Regions from separate parts of the Homo sapiens genome. Here region 1 is linked to region 2. Evidence: promoter capture Hi-C in human tissues and cell types (Jung and others, 2019). All regions are on one chromosome and are shown on one strand. Each heading gives the region's core, a stretch centred on a gene start or on the middle of the fragment in contact. The rest is flanking DNA. Distances are from core to core; before and after follow the strand shown.

The links. Contacts are between HindIII fragments. The study calls those that stand out against the background at their distance.
Region 1: a fragment that was not itself captured here is called in contact with the fragment with the promoter of SF3B5 in region 2 in 2 of the 25 tissues and cell types used here (hippocampus and spleen).

What each region holds. Positions count from the first base shown.
Region 1 is chr6:144,216,948-144,219,647 of GRCh38, reverse strand. No RefSeq gene overlaps it. Among named protein-coding and RNA genes, the nearest start is that of TRL-TAA1-1, 1.8 kb to the right of the region's middle. The HindIII fragment of the contact is 9,184 bases long and covers 1-2,700 here.
Region 2 is chr6:144,094,235-144,096,934 of GRCh38, reverse strand. SF3B5 (splicing factor 3b subunit 5) reads left to right here and starts at 1,362. Exons shown (of 1, transcript NM_031287.3): 1 at 1,362-2,051. The coding sequence starts at 1,438. The coding sequence ends at 1,698. RefSeq lists an enhancer at 913-1,612. The HindIII fragment of the contact is 26,090 bases long and covers 1-2,700 here.

The DNA.
Region 1 (2,700 bases), core at 61-2,560, 120 kb before region 2:
TGACTTCTGTGTTTTAAAGCTGATGGCTAATCCAGATATCTATTATCCTTCAACTTCATAGCCAGATTTGGAATTGGAAAATGAACTGAAACAAACAAAGAAGATGCAGTGCAATAAAGCTTCTATTGATACAATGAAAATAATGTCTCGTGCAAGTTGTATCAGTGATTCAGGATTATTTTCAATGGCAGGTTTATCATTAATGATTACAAGAGAAAAAAGAAAGTCAATTTACTGGCTGACATAGATATAGCCTGAATCTGCTTCCAAACACAGTAACTGTGGAGCAAATTATCAGAATTCTATAGTCAGAACAAGGCAGACAGAATTTAACAAAAAATTTGCCTCAACTTAACCAGTAGGTGTCACTGCGTAAATACATTGGTAGCAGCTTTTCCTACAGAGATCTATGTAAAAGCCCAATAGAAAATAAACAATTTTGAATAACTTACAACTAGTTCAAACCCACAGAGAATGTTTATAAAGCCACACTGTTAATTTTTAATTCAAAGGATTGACTTAAGTTCTTTTTGTTAAAATAATTATTAGAAAATCATTATAAGTTTAGTGGCAGTATACAAATTTAATGATTCAAATTTAATTTAAACTAATGTAAATTTAATTCAAACTAAGTTAACGATTCAAATTTAACTTCAATATATTCGCTATGTTTTAAGAACTTTTGAAAATATATAAAGAATCTAATATAACAAATCTGCTTTTCAAGGAAAAAATCCTGGGCTTTTAAGGAGGAAGAGAAAGACTGAGCTCAGTCTAACTGGCTATTAACAGAATTAAACAATTTTTCCCCCAAAATATTTTCTACCAATTCAACATGCCCCCCATCCCAAGCCTATAAAGACAGACCAAGATTCTCTACATCGGTAGACACAGATACTTCCAAATGTAACACTTGTCAGGTTCCTTCTGTTGCAAATCCTTCAGGGCATCCTGGGCATCATACTTCACAGGGCCCCCAGATGGCTCCCACGTGGCTTACCCCACCTGTATCTGTCTCCCTCTCCCTCTTGCCCCTCCCTCATCCCTGCTTCTCTTCTTTCACCTCTCAACTAAAGCTGGCTCTCTGAGGAAGAGTCAGGCCTTCCCAAACCACTCCTTTAGCACCTTGGGCATAATTCATATTTTTTCATTACAAATGTGGCTTATTAAAATCTCTGTCTCTTGCTATCTGAGCTCACTGAGACAGAGGCCGGGTTATTTATCTGCACATCCCAAGTATCTAATAGTGAGTGGCTCAGAGCCTGTTCTCAGTTGCTGGCAGGATGTTTATTTCCAAAATATGTAGACACTCTTTTTCTCTTTCCTTTTTGAACAATTCAATTCTAAAGCCATTACATGAGCTTAAGCAATGTATAGATCTGCACTGGGGAGGCAGGAATTCAGGGAGTTACAAACATGGACAGGGAGACAAAATAGAACAAAGTCTATAGTGTTGGATCAGAATTGGAGGTATATATAAACTCCTTGATATACATAAAGATATATGAATAAATATAGATATATATTTATATAGATATACAAATAGATAAATATGCACACACACACACTCCTTAATTCTGTCTACCCAGAGGGCCTGGAAGTAGCAACACCTCAAAAGCAATGAGCACACCTAGCACTGAGACCTTGGTTTCTAGATACCATTCTCCACTAAAAGGAACCAAGGATCTTTAGAAAATGGCTGATTCTAGTACTGGGTCAGGAAAGCACAAGGTAAATCTGGACCATCTTGGAGTAGGAAGTAAGGAAGTGCTAAAGAATAATGCAGACAGGTCAAAAGTCAGCTTGAATGGGCTGTCACTGGCCCAATCTGAGACACTCTGAGCATCAAAATGAATGAATGGATTGTAACCATTAATTAAAATAGGGCACCATGGATACATACGTACATAACTTATAATTCCATAAATAATTGAATAAAATGAAAATTTGATAAGGCACCGGATATTACACAGCTTCAAAGCACTTCCCTCTAAAACAGGTACTAATCACAAAGGGAAAACAGTAACTTTACAGAGGAGAAGCCTGGCAGAGAAGCAGGCCACACGGAAATCATGCGACCTGAGAGGCTGCCGTGAGAACACTGCATGGCTTCTGTGGAAGTCCTGCTAAATAAACAGAGCCTGGATCTCATCAGGAGGAAACACCAGAAAACCTAGACTGACAAAGGGACATTCTACAAACCGGCTGGCTTGTCAGCAGAAGTGTCAAGATCATGAAAGTCAGCAGAGGCTGAGGAGCTGATCCACACGGAAGAAGCCGAAGGAGACAGGACAAGTAAATGCAACGCATCATTCTGAAGAGGAGCCTTTTGCTATAAAGAACATTCTTGCGACAACTGGTGACCGATTGCGCACCGAGGATTAGATGGTATTAAATCATCAATGTTAATTTCCTGATTTTAATAGTAGTACTTGGGCATCCACTAGGTATTTTACTTTTAAATGATTCAAGAGAGGAAAAAAAGTTATTTGCAGTGTACTTGCAACTTTTAAAAATTCTTAGATGGCTCTCATTAAACAAACAATTTTAAAGGGAGAAGAAGAAAAAAAAAACTTGACCACGCTGTATTTAAAAATTCTAAGCCGAACCCAAGTTGGAGTGCATTTTACATCTAGGATGATACAGTCTCCGCCTTCTAGGAGTTAATAGAAGAGTTGTGTGCACAAAATTAACATTGGC
Region 2 (2,700 bases), core at 113-2,612:
AAATGGGGATGGACACAACAGGTAACATGGAGAAATACAGTTGTCCCTCAGTATTCGTGAGTGATTTGTTCCAGGACCCCCATGGATACCAAAACTAGAGGATGCTCAAGTCCCTGATATAAAACGGCTTGTATTTGCATATACGCACATCCTCCTGTATAGTTTGTCTCTAGATTATTTAACATACCTAATACAATGTAAATGCTATGTAAATAGTTGTTATACTGTATTGTTTAGGGAATAATAACCTTAAAAAGTCTGCATTTCGGTACAGACTGATATTTTCCCCCAATATTTTCAATCAGGTTGGTTGAATCCACAAAACCCACTGAATGGAAGAGCCAAGTAGGGTGAGGTGAGGCCTTGGAGGGAGGATATCAAAATAAGTGGCTAGAGAGGAAGGAGGAGCTTGAGGTGGAAGCCGGAATGTGTGGGAACTGGTGCTGTACTTGCTCACCAAGCACCCTGGTTAGAGCTGAAATAACTCTTTTATGCCACAAACTCCTAAGAGACATAGTTGGGACCAGAACTGGCGCCTGCTGACTTCTGGGTAATCCATCCCCGGTTGTGAAGGGACGGCCGTGCCGCCACGACGGCTCCGAAATACACCAAGAGTTTATTTTCGGGGCTGCTCGTAGTCCAGTCATTCTTGGGTTTCCCATTTCCTATCAGCCCCAAGCCACCCACGGATGCTCCCCACCTCCAGACATCGCCCTCCACTAGGTCCCCAGATCACTTTTAAAACGCGACCAGGGGCCGGGCGCGGTGGCTCACGCCTGTAATCCCAGCACTTTGGGAGTCCGAGGCGGGCGGATCACGAGGTCAGGGGTTCGAGACCAGTGAAACCCCGTCTTTACTAAAAATACAAAAAAACTAGCCGGGCGTGGTGGTGTGCAACTGTCATCCCAGCTACTCGGGAGGCTGAAGCAGGAGAATCGCGTGAACCCAGGAGGCGGAGGTTGCAGTGAGCCGAGATCGCGCCATTGCATTGCAGCCCGGGCAACAGTGCAAGACTCCGTCTTAAACAAACAAACAAACAAACAACAGAACGCGACCAGGAGTCCCGGAAGCCTGCGTGCACGAACTCCCAAGACCACAAGTCCCAGCATGCAACGCTCCTTGTTGGAAAAGGGCCTCCCTTAGCCACTAAGTGGACCATCATGCAACATTCTCTGATGGGGCGGGGATCTCCATGGAGGGGGGAGGCACACTTGTTGCGTCGCCTCAGCAACTCCAATTGCGTGACAGAATGTGCTTCCGCTTCCGCCTCTGAGCCCTATGAGCGAGAGTTACGCTACTTAGTCGTTGTGACGCCATTCTTCTGCGACGGCGCGGACCTGGAGCTTCCGCGCGGTGGCTTCACTCTCCTGTAAAACGCTAGAGCGGCGAGTTGTTACCTGCGTCCTCTGACCTGAGAGCGAAGGGGAAAGCGGCGAGATGACTGACCGCTACACCATCCATAGCCAGCTGGAGCACCTGCAGTCCAAGTACATCGGCACGGGCCACGCCGACACCACCAAGTGGGAGTGGCTGGTGAACCAACACCGCGACTCGTACTGCTCCTACATGGGCCACTTCGACCTTCTCAACTACTTCGCCATTGCGGAGAATGAGAGCAAAGCGCGAGTCCGCTTCAACTTGATGGAAAAGATGCTTCAGCCTTGTGGACCGCCAGCCGACAAGCCCGAGGAGAACTGAGACTCTGCCTTACCACCGCAGTGCGGGGCACCTCTCCCAGCGTTTCTCCGGTTTGCCAATCCTCTTAAGTATTCCTGTCTCCAAAGGACCGGCTCTCCATGGCTCCTGCGCCTCGTGCTTTCCGCGTACAGAAGTGCTTGCCCGGGGAGTCCCGCCTGACCTGCCTTCATGTGGACCCTTAGAACAGCACTGGGAGACCAGCAGGACTCCTGAGAACTGTGCTGGTGGAGAGGTCCTAGAGCCGGCGAGCGTTTGAGAAGAGGGCATGGCGCTGGAGTGAGATGGGATTTGGCGTCTCGTTTTTGGCTAATTGATTGTCATTGGCTTTTTCCATAAAGTTTAGAAATCGTTCAGTCTCTTGGTGTGAACTTTCTGTGTTAGGGTGGAAGGCTCCGGAAAGAGCTGAGCGGGAAGTGGGTTTGGGTGAGGGAGCGCATGCCAGTGTCCATGGCCAGGCACTTAGATCCGCCGTGTCTACCTTTATAATTAATTCCCCGACTGCCACTTTTCCCAAGAGCGTTATTTTCAGGCCCACAATGCCTTCAGTATTGAAATTTGTGGTTATTGTATCCCATCTTCTTTTTCTCCTGTTTTAAAACTCTTTGCAGTCTTTGCTGTCATTGTCCTCCCTAGCCTCTTTAAAATGCATCCTTTTTTTTTTCTTGGGAATTTGTGGCCATGTCTCCAGAAATGACAAGCTGGCAAGCGAGTTCATCCATTCTACATTCAACAAATATTTGTTGAGCTCTATGTGACAGGCATTTTCCCGTGTTCTTGGGGCTTACATTATGCTGGTGGTGGAGAAAGGAGGTCAAACACTAGATGTAATAAGCAAATGTTAGAAGATGCTGCGGGGAGGGGAGAACAATGTATGTGGTGCGGGTGGGAGTAGCTGGTAGGGCTGTAATCTTAAATATGATGCACAAGTTACTGAGATGGTGACATTTGAGCAAAGACTTCAGGAAAATGAGGGAAATGGCCATGCGGAAAACTGGAGAAATT